Regions from separate parts of the Homo sapiens genome. Here regions 1 and 3 are each linked to region 2. The links are contacts of gene promoters, found by promoter capture Hi-C in blood cells and fetal thymus (Javierre and others, 2016). All regions are on one chromosome and are shown on one strand. The core of a region is centred on a gene start or on the middle of the fragment in contact, and the rest is flanking DNA. Distances in the headings are between cores, read along the strand shown.

What was found. The method cuts DNA at HindIII sites, captures the fragments that hold promoters and counts their contacts. A CHiCAGO score of 5 or more calls a contact.
Region 1: a contact is called between a fragment that was not itself captured here and the fragment with the promoter of RABGEF1 in region 2, in 1 of 17 cell types (neutrophils). The highest score is 5.3, in neutrophils.
Region 3: a contact is called between a fragment that was not itself captured here and the fragment with the promoter of RABGEF1 in region 2, in 3 of 17 cell types (activated CD4 T cells, non-activated CD4 T cells and naive CD4 T cells). The highest score is 6.2, in activated CD4 T cells.

What each region holds. Positions count from the first base shown.
Region 1 is chr7:66,643,053-66,647,534 of GRCh38, forward strand. It overlaps a transcript of KCTD7 not described here. Among named protein-coding and RNA genes, the nearest start is that of KCTD7, 16 kb to the left of the region's middle. The HindIII fragment of the contact is 7,195 bases long and covers 1-4,482 here.
Region 2 is chr7:66,738,396-66,742,792 of GRCh38, forward strand. RABGEF1 (RAB guanine nucleotide exchange factor 1) reads left to right here and starts at 2,338. Exons shown (of 9, transcript NM_014504.3): 1 at 2,338-2,397. RefSeq lists enhancers at 1,952-2,001, 2,015-2,681 and silencers at 2,132-2,401, 2,422-2,561. The HindIII fragment of the contact is 9,271 bases long and covers 1-4,397 here.
Region 3 is chr7:66,620,010-66,624,926 of GRCh38, forward strand. No RefSeq gene overlaps it. Among named protein-coding and RNA genes, the nearest start is that of KCTD7, 6.4 kb to the right of the region's middle. The HindIII fragment of the contact is 2,428 bases long and covers 742-3,169 here.

The DNA.
Region 1 (4,482 bases), core at 1,936-4,435, 94 kb before region 2:
GTGCTGTGCCTTTCTTTTTTAGAGATGTGCTCTCATCTCTTCTCTGACCCCCACTTTGCCAGCAAATATTTTTTATTTCTGCTTAAAATGTGGTGTGTTTGGGGATGCCCCACACAACAAGACAGGCTTTTCCCTGAGACCAGCAGCTGAATTTCTGCCCTGAAAGGGAGGTGGGCCTCTTGAGGACCCTTCTAGAGTTACTCTAGACTTGTCCCTGTTTCATGTAGGCATGTGCCCACCCCAGCCTAGGCAAAATCTCTGTCCTCTTCTTTTGGGAGTTCTCCAAGGAAAGAAGAGACTGCAGGTGCAGTCACGTGTGTGGCTCACAACCATGTCAGGTAGTTCTAAAATAAATTCCTCCTGTCATATTACCACTTCCTTTTCAATGGGGGAAATAAGTAGCTCTAAATTTATGTAAGCCTCAGTGGTTAAGACCCTTCCTTAAGAAAAATGGACGTAAGTTGCCCTTCCTTTGAAAGCAGAGCTTGACACCTTCCTGGCTAATGAGTGTCCTCATCAAGATGCCCCCTGGAGTCACATCATGGATTAACGCAGAAAGGTGAGTTCTGAGGCTCTGAGTAGCTTCATACCCTCCAACTGCTTCCCTTAAACCTCTGATTATTCTGGCTTTTAAACAAAAGCACTGTATCATCTGTGCCAAATGTATTCCCTGACTAATTACTGAGTACAGTCACATAGTTATAGTACACTAATAATACAGGCTGGAAACTGAAGCTCATAGAAGTATGTAGTTTCCCCAAGAGTGCAGAGCTAGTAAGTGGAAGAGTCAGGATTCAAACCCAGAGCCCCTTTCTGAAATCCTCAGAGGTGTTCAACAGCATGATCCTCCCTTCCTCTTGACAGCTCGTATCCTCCTCCTGAGGTTTAGGGCTTCACTCTACCTGACCTGTGAAGATTTGAAAGCACATATCTAGGACAAGTATTAGAAAGTCTTCATACTTCAGGAAAGGATTTTAGGAAAAAAGGAAAAAAAAAATCTCCCATAGATGTTGTATTAGTCCATTTTCACACTGCTGTAAAGAACTACCTGAGACCGGTTAATTTATAAAGAAAAGAGGTTTAATTGACCCACAGTTCACATCCCTGGGAGGCCTCAGGAAACTTATAATCATGGCAGAAGGCGAAGTTCAGAAGCAAGGCACATCTTATATGGAGGCAGGAGAGAGAGAGAATGGGGAGGCCAGGCATGGTGGCTCATGCCTGTATAATCCCAGCACTTTGGGAGGCCGAGGCAGGCAGATCACGAGGTCAAGAGATTGAGACCATCCTGGCCAACATGGTGAAACCCCATCTCTATTAAAAAACAAAATACAAAAAAATTAGCTGGGCATGGTGGCGTGCACCTGTAGTCCCAGCTACTCGGGAGGCTGAGGCAGGAGAATCACTTGAACTCAGGAGGCAGAGGTTGCAATAAGCCGAGATCATGCCACTGCACTCCAGCCTGGAAACAGAGTGAGACTCCATCCCACAAAAATAAAAAAAGAGTGGGGAAATGCTACACTTTTAAACCATCAGAGCTCGTGAAAACTCACTATCACAAGAACAGCATAGGGGAAATCTACCTCCATGATCCAATCACCTCCCTCCAGGTCCCTCCCCTGACAAGTGGGGATTACAGTTCAACATGAGATTTGGGTGGGGACACAGAGCCAAACCATATCAAATGTGTAGTCCTTATGTAGCCCCTGTGTTAAGGGGGTAGATGGGGCTCCCGATTTACTGACCTTCTTAGTGAGGGACACATATCCGCTAGGTGAAGGAGGCCCTGTTCACAGGATGATGTATGGAGTATGACAGAGTAGGTGAGTCATGGCTCCTTGGCTAGACCCCAAGGGTGGGATGATCTGGAACCACCTGAGTTAATGACACTCCTGAAGCCTTGCAGGTATCCCTGCATAGACAAGCTGGATAGCCTACTTCCAACATCAAAAGCATAACAGAATGGGAGACTCCTTAGTGTAGTTCAGGGGATGCCATGTGCCTGGCTTGGGACTCATGGCCCTTGGACTTAGATCTCTATACTGCCAAGTGTCCCGTCTTCATTCTTGTGTAGATGACCTCTTCACTACTTAATTTTGGTTTGTTGAACTTATAGCCTGTTCCCTTAGCTTTTATTTACTTACCTTTAGCTTTCTTTTAATTCCTTACCACATTGTTTTTCCTATCATGTACTTTAGCTTAATTTCTCTGTTTTTTAAACATAATTTTAAACTTTCTTTCTTTCTTTCTTTTTTTTTTTTTTGAGACAGTCTTGCTCTGTTGCCCAGGCTGCAGTGTAGTGGTGCAATCTCAGCTCACTACATCCTCCACCAGCTGGGTTCAAGCAATCCTCCTTCGTCAGCCTCCCAAGTAGCTGGGATTACAGACGCGCCACCAAGCCTGGCTAATTTTTGTATTTTTAGTAGAGATGGGGTTTCACCATATTGGCCAGACTGGTCTCAAACTCCTGACCTCAGGTGATGTACCCGCCTTGGCCTCCCAAAGTGCTGGGAGTACAGGCATGAGCCACCACCACACCGAGCCTAGTAGTTTTTGTTTTGAGAAAGAATAGTTAGGTGCTTTTCTTTTCCCTTCCCCAGTCATGTCTACAGTGATCTTATTAGCTGTGAACTTAGGTACCTCATTTTTTCTCAGATGAATACCTGCTTCTAAAATCTAAATGCAAAGTAAGAGTGACAGTATTACTATAAAATTCATAGATGTTCATTATCTAGGTATATTCAAAGGACAGAATTTTATGTCTTCTTCCAAAGTGTACCCCTGACCCTCCACCACACCACACACACACACACACATGAAATAATAAACAGAGCAGCCTTAGGAAGAGGGCAGTTCAATTCCTGGACTGCAAAGGACTTCTTCTCTCACACACTTGTTTTTCCTGAGGAATGACATGATCTGGAAATCCTAGGTATCCCCCTTCTCCAACCACTTGACACCAGGTGGACACAGAGCTGTTGTACACCAGGAGAAGATCCAGTCAACTGTGGGAAAGACTGAACCATGAACCATCCAGAAATACTCCGTAACAGGGGCCTGTCATCAGATTATGATGTACCTTTTCTAGCCACCTCTGGCCTCTATGTCAACCTTATTCACACCTCAACAAACCATGACTTCTGAGGATTCTCTTTTTTTTTTTTTTTTTTTTTTTTTGAGACGGAGTCTCATTCTGCTGCCCAGGCTAGAATGCAGTGGTGCAGTCTCAGCTGACTGCAACCCCCGCATCCCGGGTTCAAGCAATTCCCTGCCTCAGCCTCCCAAGTAGCTGGGATTACAGGTGCTCGCTACCACACCCGGATAATTTTTGTATTTTTAGTAGAGATGGAGTTTCACCATCTTGGCCAGGCTAGTCTTGAACTCCTGACCTTGTGATCCACCCACCTCAGCCTCCCAAAGTGCTGGGATTACAGGCGTGACCCATCGCACTTGGCCAGGATTCTCTTAATGTAATACAGACCCTCATTTCTTCCCCGTATCATATGATCCTGGCAGATGGCCCAGCCCCAGTAGATTTTTGGAATGGAGGTATCCATACTTTTCTCAGTCATTATTAAAATCAAGAAATAGAATCACATAGCAACACAAAACTTGGAGCTTGACCCTCATTAAAAGAAACTTACAGGTTCAGAGTCCAGTTGAAGAAATCTTTGTATCTCCAGTATTTTTGTAAAGAGGTCAGGGTGGTATCATGAGTAGGCTTAAGTCCCTACAGTCTTTGTGAACTTTTATAAATGCCTTGGGTATCCAGTTTCTCAACATAGCATCTTCATCACCAACTGTACCTCAGCTGACTGCCCCAAGGGCCCACCCGTGTGTGCACACGTTGCAGGTGTTTACTGTCCCTCTCACCATGTCCTCCTCCACCTCTCCCCTCTGTTTGTAACTGTCCTGTCTTTGATATTTAAAAGCTAGTTGGCCACTTCTGGCCATGCCTTATCTGGTACCTGTTAGCCAACCATGACAGTGATGCCATACCCAGGACTGTCTGCTTCTTGTTCTCAGGCAGGTAGGTGCTCTCAGCACTGATGTCTCTTGCTTTCCAAGTCAGCTTTTACATCTGGCCTGCTAGGAACTGGAGAGCATTTTCAGTCTTCATAGCAGCAGCATAGGATCCTGCAGGCTCTGTATCCACCTAAGTTAAGGTAAGGTGGATACACATCCTGGAAACTCTGTATCTACCTCCACAACAGCTGCAGAGGATGCCTGCAGGATCACACTGAGCAGACACACTAGTTTCATCACACTAGTTTCATCTTCTGCACCAGAAAGGAAGAATCTATTTTGCCTGGCCAGGCATGGTGGTTCACACCTGTAATCCTATAGCACTTTGAGAGGCAGAGGCAAGAGGATTGCCTGAGGCCAGGAGTCCAGGACCAGCCTGGGTGACATAGCAAGATCCTATGTCCAAAAAAACAAAATTCAAAAACATAAGCCAGGCAGGGTGGTGTGCACCTGCAG
Region 2 (4,397 bases), core at 1,088-3,587:
TCTGTCTTTAGCACCAACCTCTTCTGCTCAGCCCATTGAACACTCATTCTGGGCCCAGGGGTCTAGGCTCATGCCTGTAATCCCAGCACTTTTGGAGGCCGGGGTGGGCAGATTGCTTGAGTCCAGGAGTTCGAGACCAGCCAGGGCGACATGGCAAAACCTTGTCTCTACAAAAAAACCCCAAAAACTAGCTGGGTGTGCTGGCACACACCTATCATCCCAGCTACTAGGGAGGTGGAGGCAGAAGGATCACTTGAGCCAGGGAGTTGGAGGCTGGAGTGCGCCGAGATTGCACCACTGTGCTCCAGCCTGGGCAACAGAGTGAGACTCTAACTCAAAAAAAAAAAAAAAAAAGAAACACTCATTCTGTTTCACAGAATGGTTTATAGAATGGTGTGTTGCCTGATTCTGTAATCACAAAAGTCAGTTAAGAGCTTTAAAGTAAATGTTATTCTGTCTTTTGGTAATAGCAATTACCACCATCCAAGGTACTACTGTAAATAATTATTGTTTATTCCCTCCTCCACCTCCTCAGCACAGGTACTTTGTGTTTTTTTGTTTTGTTTTGTTTTTTGAGGAGGAGTTTCACTCGTTGCCCAAGCTGGAGTGCAATGGCGCAATCTCAGCTCACTGCAACCTCCGCTTCCCGGGCTCAAGTGATTCTCCTGCCTCAGCCTCCCAAGTTGCTGGGATTGCAGGCATGTGCCACCATGCCTGGCTAATTTTGTATTTTTAGTAGAGACAGGGTTTCTCCATGTTGGTCAGGCTGGTCTTGAACTCCCGACCTCAGGTGATCTGCCCGCCTCGGCTTCCCAAAGTGCTAGGATTACAGGCGTGAGCCACTGCGCCTGGCCTTACTTTTGTTTTATACTCTGTTGTACCCTCAGCGTAGCACACATTAGGCACTTAGGAAGAATCTGAGAAACGAATCAGTTAATCCCTACTTTACCAATAATGAATAAAGACTGAGAAACTCGGGCCGGGCGCAGTAGCTCACACCTATAATCCTAGCACTTTGGGAAGCCAAGGTGGGCGGATCACTTGAGGTCAGGATTCAAAACCAGCCTGGCCAACATGGTGAAACCCTGTCTCGACTAAAAATACAAAAAAAAAAATATGAGCTGGGCGTGGTGGCGGGTGCCTGTAATTCCAGCTACTTGGGTGGCTGAGGTGGGAGAATCGCTTGAACCTAGGAGGCGGAGGTTGCAGTAAGCCGAGATCGCACGACTGAACTCCAGTGTGGGCGACAGAGTGAGAGTCTCAAAAAAAAAAAAAAAAAAAAAAAAAATAGACTGAAAAATTACGCAACCTGTCCAAGAACACTACAGCGACAATTAGCAAAGCTGGGATTTTAACCCAGGTCTATCTCACAGCCACAGCATAGTATTTTCTTTTTTTTCTTGCTGTGACTGCACGTTACGCCATACATGGCATTCAGGACGCAGAGGAATTAGTATTTACTGTTTTTAACATTCCTTACATGGGAATCACGTAAAGAATCAGGTAAACAGGATTCAATTTGTGACTCAACCATTAATACTTTGTGACACTGGCTAATTTATTTCACTTCTGGATGTCGGTTATGTTTTTTTTGAGACAGGATCTCGCTCTGCTGTCACCCGGCCTGGAGTTCAGTGGAGGGATCTCTGCACCGTCAACTTCCTGGGCTATCAAGCGATCCTCCCACCTCAGCCTCCCTGGTAGTTGGGACCACAGGTGCCCGCCATCATGTCCGGCTGATTTGTAAAATTTCTTTTGTAGAGATGGTGACCTTGCTCTGTGGCCCAGGCTGGTCTCGAACTCCTGGACTCAAGCGATCCTCCTGCCTGGGCCTCCTAAAGATTCAGCTGCTTTTGGATCAACCGATCGCCTTAAGACCTTTTAACTCGAACACCTGTCACATCCTAGGATCCGCGAAGGACTGAAACAGAGTTTCTGAAGCGTCCCTCGGCGCAGTAGCTCCGCTCCACCTCCCATTCGCGCTACCACCGCGGCCGCAGCCCCAGGAGTCGCCGCGGAGCCAGCGTCGCCCTCCAGCTGTTGCGCGTCGGAAGCCGGAAGCAGGGACTGAGCGACAGACTAGGAAACGCCGGTTTCTCCGGGGCTCCCCAGCGCCCCACCTTTACCCCGGAGGCCGCCCTCTTCCATTTGCTCTTGGGCGTCAGGGCGGTACCCCACTCCGCTCGACCCTTTGGATCCACTCGCACTTCCTCCCGTCCAGAGTCAAAGGCCCCGGAAGTGACGTTTACGCGCCGCGCGTAACGTGCGTTCGCTGGCGGTGCCGGGGGCGGGGCGAGCAGGAGGGTGGGTGTGAGGCGGGAGCTGGCCGCGGAGCCCAGACCTACCCGGGCGAAGCGGGCGAGCGGTGGTTTGGACGCCGGCGGAGACGCGGGCGAGGTACGGAGCGGACGGACTGGGGCTGAGAGCTGCTCGGCTCTCAGCTACAGGAGCGGGGCGGCGGGGCGTCTCGGGCTGGGGGTGGCAGGGCGGTCGGTCCGTGCCATCCGCGCGGCTGGGGCAGTTGCGCGTCGGTGCCTCCCGCTGTCCTTCGTCCCACATTCCGTCTCCGTCAGCGCCGCCTTCCCCGTTCCAGGCCGCCCTCGGCTCCCTTAATCCTCAGAGTGCGGCCTCTCCGTCCCAGACGCTAGTTGCCGGGATCTCCAGCGCCAGCCGAGCCCCGACGGCCTGACGCGGAGCATTTCCTGGCCGCCTCCCTCTCCGGCGGCTCCCCTCGCCCCGGCTCCCACCTTCCGTCCAGGCCGCTGGCTCCGAAGCAGCGTCTGTGGTCGCACGGGGCCCCTCCCACAACCTCCCCGGAAAGCGCTGGTATGGGACGCTCGGACCCAGACCACAGCCCCCGGCCGCGGCAGGGGCGCGGGGACTTGATCCCACGTCACCCTAGGGGGCAGAAGTGTCCCGGAGTTGGGAGGGGATTTGAAGCCTGTGGTCCTGACTTCCACCCCGTGGCTGAGGGCGAGGCTGCGGGGCCGGGGTTAGGAGCAGAAGTCCCTGCTTCCGAACCGTCTGGGAGGAGAGCCGAGGGATGCCCATCACGGCAGTTTAGGGAGAGAGAGGGAGGGACTCTGCCGCTTTGGAGGCTAGGTCATAGGCAGCTGGCGGTGTCTCAGCGCGGGTGACCAATCCTTGCGGTTGGGAAATGTGTCGTGGGCGCCCGTGGGCTCGTTTTGCCTTTGAGATTAGGTAGGAAATTTTCCCAGGACGAGTTTACCGGAGCACCTTGGGAGTTGGTTTTTGGCCTGGAGAGCTGCTTTCCCCCCTCTAAACCTAGAACTGCTTTGTTTTTATTTATTATTTTTTTCGACATGGGATCTCACAGTGTTGCCCAGGCAGGTGTGAAACTCCTGGCCTTAAGTGATCCTCCCGCCTCGGCCTCCCAGAGTGTTGGGATTATAGGCGTGAGCCATTGCGCGGCTTTAACTGCTGTTAAAGAGTGTGTTCCGGCCGGGTGCGGTGGCTCACGTCTGTAATCCCAGCATTTGGAAGGCCAAGGCAGGCGGATCATGACGTCAGGAGCTTGAGACCATCCTCCCTAACACGGTGAAACCCCGTCTCTACTACAAATAAAAAAAAAAAAGAAAAAGAAAATTTGCCGGGCATCGTGGCGGGCACCTGTAGTCCCAGCTACTCTGGAGGCTGAGGCAGGAGAATGGCATGAACCCGGGAGGCGGAGGTTGCAGTGAGCCGAAATCGTGCCACTGCACTCCAGCCTGGGCGACAGAGCTAGACTCTATCTCAAAAAAAAAACTAAGAGTCTGTTCCTTAAAATTGTTGTACCAAGAAACTTGCCAGAGATGCAAGAAAATGTGATTATATTGTTAATATTTAATGATAAATAACATTTTGCTTTTAAGAGTCACTGATTCATATCCGCAGGATTAAGAAATGTTCAGGATTTGAATTTTTAATGACCTTCCAAGCAGTCATGTTTCTGCTCTCTAGAAGTTAGCCAGTTGAGGAGAAGGGACAGTCAAGATACTTTCAAAACAGTGTGGTAAGGAATGTGAGCTAAGATGGAGCACCGAGGAAGGAGCCGGGCATTTAGGCCATGCTGTTGGGTGTGGAGCCTGGAAGGGATCAGGGAATACTTTCTGCATGTGTCTTGAAGAATGACTAACATTCAGACTAACAGGGTGGAGTGAGGGAGAGGGGGGAATCAAAGGAGAGGAGGCCAGTAACTACAAGGAGGTGCCTATTAATTTATTTATTGAGAGAGAGGGTCTCACTTTGTCACCCAGGCTGGAGTACAGTGACACGATCACGAGTCACTGAAGTCTCAACTGCCTGTGCTGAAGTGATCCTCCCACCTCAGCCTCCCGAGTAGCTAAGACTGCAGATGCGTGCCACCACACCCAGCTGATTTTTAAATATTTTGTAAA
Region 3 (4,917 bases), core at 706-3,205, 120 kb before region 2:
GAAACATAATGATGAAAAAGCAACATGCAATATTATGCAAGACAACTATGGATTCTCAAACTAACTTCAAGGAACACTATTTTCTTTCTTTCTTTTTTTTTTTTTTGAGACGGAGTCTCGCTCTGTCACCCAGGCTGGAGTGCAGTGGCACGATCTCGGCTCACTGCAAGCTCCACCTCCCAGATTCACGCCATTCTCCTGCCTCAGCCTACGGAGTAGCTGGGACTACAGGCGCCCGCCACCACGCCCGGCTAATTTTTTGTATTTTTGGTAGAGACGGGTGTTTCACCATGTTAACCAGGATGGTCTTGATCTCCTGACCTCATGATCTGCCCACCTTGGCCTCCCAAAGTGCTGGGATTACAAGCATGAGCCACGGCACCCTGCTTCTTCTTTTTTTTGATATGAAGTCTCACTCTGTCACCCAGGCCGGAGTGCAGTGGCGCCATCTCAGCTCATTGCAACCTCTGCCTCCCGAGTTCAAGCGATTCTCCTGCCTCAGCCTCCTGAGTAGCTGGGACTACAGGTTCATGCCACCACGCCTGGCTAATTTTTTGTATTTTTTTGTAGTAGAGACGGGTTCACCATGTTGGCCAGGCTGGTCTCGAACTAGTGACCTTGCAATCCACCTCCTTCGGCCTCACAAAGTGTTGAGATTACAGGCATGAGCCACTTCAATATAATTATATTAATAATTTTATTAAATAAAATAAATAAAAATAGAAAACAGAATTCATCAAAAGCTTACATGTAGGCTGGGCATGGTGGCTTATGCCTGTATTCCCAGCACTTTGGAAGGTTAGGACAAAAGGATCACTTAAGGCCAGAAGTTCGAGACCAGCCTCAGCACCATAGTGGGACCCTGTCTCTACACAAAATTTTAAAACTTTAAAAATTGTCTGGGCATGGTGGTGCATGCCTATAGACCTAGGTCCTCGTGAGGCTAAAATAGGAGGATCACTTGAGCCCAGGAGTTTGAGGCTGCAGTGAGCTATGATCACACCACTGCACTCCAGCCTGGGCAACAGAGCGAGACCCTGTCTCAAAGAAAAAAAGACGAGCCTGGGCAACGTAGTGAGACTCCAACTCTATGAAAAATTTTAAAAATCAGCAGAACATGGTGGTGCACTCCGGTAATCCCAGCTACTTGGGAGGCTGATGTGGGGGAATCACTTGAGCTTGGGAGGTCGTGCCTGCAGTGAGCCATGTTCACACCACTGCACTCCAGCCTGGGTAACAGAGTGAGACCTTGTCTCAAAAAACAAAAACAAAAAAAAAAAGGAAAACAAAGACCGGGCGCGGTGGCTCACGCCAGTAATCCCAGCACTTTGGGAGTCTGAGGCGAGTGGATCACGAGGTAAGGAGTTCAAGACTAGCCTGGCCAAGATGGTGAAACCCCATCTCTACCAAAAAATACAAAAAATTAGCTGGGTACGGTGGCAGGCGCCTGTAATCCCAGCTACTTGGGAGGCTGAGGCAGGAGAATCACTTGAACTCGGAGGGCGGAGGTTGCAGTGAGCTGAGATTGTGCCACTGCACTCCAGCCTGGGCGACAGAGTGAGACTCTGTCTCAAAAAAAAAAAAAAAAAAAAAAAAAGGAAAGAAAAAGAAAGGAAAAAGAAAAGGCTGGGTGCGGTGGCTCATGCCTGTAATCCCAGTACTTTGGGAGGCCAAGGCGGATGGATCACAAGGTCAGGATAAGGAAGGAGGCTGGGCGGGAGGCTGAGGCGGGCGGATCACGAGGTCAGGAGATCGAGACCATCCTGGCTAATATGGTGAAACCCCGTCTCTACTAAAAATACAAAAAAAATTAGCCGGTCATGATGGCGGGCGCCTGTGGTCCCAGCTATTCAGGAGGCTCAGGCAGGAGAATGGCGTGAACCCGGGAGGCGGAGTTTGAAGTGAGCCGAAATCGCGTCACTGCACTCCAGCCTGGGCGACAGAGCGAGACTCCGTCTCAAAAAAAAAAAAAAAAAAAGATAAGGAAGGAGCCCACTACTACTCCTGCTGCCCTTCTCCCACGACATTGCCTAGTTCACAAAACGGGAGGAAAGAGAGAAAGCAAAAAGTTGGAAAGAAACAGAAGATAAGTAGCCAGACAACCTTGGCACCACCATCCGGCCCTAGGAATTAAAAAAAATAATAACTACTTGTGTTATCTGTAAATTCCACACATTGTATGAAAAAGCATTGCAAGACCTAGCTCCTCGGGAGGCTAAAATGGGAGGATCACTTGAGCCCAGGAGTTTGAGGCTGCAGTGAGCTATGATCACACCACTGCACTCCAGCCTGGGCAACAGAGTGAGACTCTGTTTTTAAAAAAACAACAAAAGGAAAAGAAGCCTACATGTAAAGAGCTTGAGTTGAGAGCACTTCAGGACCTGTGTCATCGTGCACAGTGAAGATATCTATGGTGACTAACGTGCATCCCAAACCAAAGAGCCCTCCCTGAATGCTTTGCTCTGGTTAATACTCCCAGGACGCTCACCACTTAAGACCCTTCCCACCAGCCCAGCATTATAGTATCCTGGGATTCCCTACCTCTATGATATTAATAACAGCAATTTATTCCTCTATATGCTAATAGCACTAATGAAATAGATGAGAAAAAAATCTATGGTCATTGGTAACTATTTGAGCTTGATCATAGCACAAACTTCTTTCACATATCAATTTATTGAGTTTCTACTATGCGCCAGGCATTGTACTAGACTGCGGAGATATTACAGAGATGAATAGAACAGCAAAATGGATGCTTCCATCTGTCTTTTTTTTTTTTTTTTTTTTTAGAGACAGAGTCTTGCTTTGTCACCCAGGAAGTGCAGTGGTGCGATCTCCACTCACTGCAACCTCTGCCTCTCAGGTCCAAGCAATTATCCAGCCTCAGCCTCCTGAATAGTTAGGATTACAGGCACCCACCACCATGCTCAGGTAATTTTTGTATTTTTAGTAGAGACGAGGTTTCGCCATGTTGGCCAGGCTGGTCTCGAACTCCTGACCTCAGGTGATCCGCCCGCTTTGGCCTCCCAAAGTGCTGGGGTTACAGGCATGAGCCACATGGCACCCATCCATCCATCCAGTCTTTTGACATCCATAAAGCTGGAGACCAACACTGGGACCTCTGCTACAGCCACAGCAAAAAAGAAAAGTCTTAACATATTCGTGTCCAAGCTTGCCTGCAGAAAGAGCAAAAAGTATATGGTCTTCAATCCGGTGTTCACATTTGCCCTCCAAATCTCCAGGGTATTGATCCGCTTGGTGAAGGCTGGGTCACCTGCAGAACCCAGAACACAAGGTACTCTGGGAAAAAGTAACTTTTAGATTTCAAGCTTCCAGCATTCAAGTGAGGCACACTTTAGGGAGGCCAGAAAAGAGATGAGAGGGCTGGGAGAGGTGGCTCACACCTGTAATCCCAGTACTTTGGGAGGCCGAGGCAGGTGGATCACTTGAGATCAGGAGTTGGAGACCAGCCTGGCCAACATGGTAAAACCCCGTCTCCATTAAAATACAAAAAAAATTTAGCCAGGCGTGGTGGTGTGCGCATGTAATTCCAGCTATTCGAGAGGCTGAGGCAGGAGAATCCCTTCAACCAGGGAGGCAGAGGTTGCAGTGAGTCGAGATTACACCACTATACTCCAGCATGGACAACAAAGTGACACTGTGTCTCAAAAAAAAAAAGAGATGAGAAAGCCAATCTGAACTATTGGCCACATTTACGAAGTGGACAATTGGAAGAAAAGTCCAAGCTAAGGAATAACAGTGGGTAATGAATGGGGGTGTATCAGCGACTGAGGGGGAGTTGAGAGCAGTAGGCCCTTAGCCAAGCTTTTATGCCAGGGGAGGCTGCTGGCAAAAAAACTTTTTTCTTTTCTTTTTTTTTTCTTGAGACGGGGTCTCACTCTGTCACCCAGTCTGGAGTGCAATGGCATGATCTCAGCTCACTGCAACCGCCACCTTCCTGGTCCAAGTGACGGTCCTGCCTCAGCCCCTTGAGTAGCTGGAACTACAGGCAGTCACCACCACACCTGGCTAATTTTTGATTTTTGTATTTTTATTAGAGACCAGGTTTCACCATGTTGGCCAGGTTGGTCTCTAACTTCTGATCTCAGGTGATCTGCCCGACTCTGCCTCCCAAAGTGCTGGGATTACAGGTGTGAGGTACCGTGTTCAGCCCCTTCTCATGGATTCTGCAGTGTTGGATTCTAGAATTAGTCACTGGCTTGCTTCCTTTCCCATTCTGCATATTCTCTCAAAGTGACTTCATCTGCTTTCTTGGTTTCAATTACCACCTGTATATAGTAAAGATTCCTAAATTTAAATTGCCAACCCAGAGTTTTCTCTTGAACTTCAAATTTTTATCCTACGTGAAACCGACAGTGCCTACTGATGTCCCCAGGGGCACCTCAAACTTACCATGTCCAAATCTAACATCATCTTCCCACCAAATATTTTCATCTGTCTTTATTTCCCTCAATTTTTCAATTTTTTTTTTGACAAAGTCTCACTCTGTCACCCAGCCTGGAGTGCAGTGGTGTGATCTCGGCTCACTGCAACCTCTGCTTCCTGGGTTCAACTGATTCTCATGCCCCAGCCTCCTGAGTAGCTAGGATTACAGGTGCCTGCCACCACGCCTGGCTAATTTTTGTATTTTAGTAGAGATAGGGTTTCACCATGTTGGCCAGGCTGGTCTCAAACTCCTGACCTCAGGTGATCCACCTGCCTCAGCCTCCCAAAGTGCTGGGAATACAGGTGTGAGCCACCACGCTTGGCTAGTTCCTTCAATTCTTTCAATTATTTGTCCCTTAGCCAAGAGGAATGAAGGGAGAAATATCAGTTGAGAGGGTGGAGTTAGAAGTTTGGCCTTCACTTGCTCTTTCATCCTTAAAAAGTGTTTTTTGGCCAGGCACAGTGGCTCAC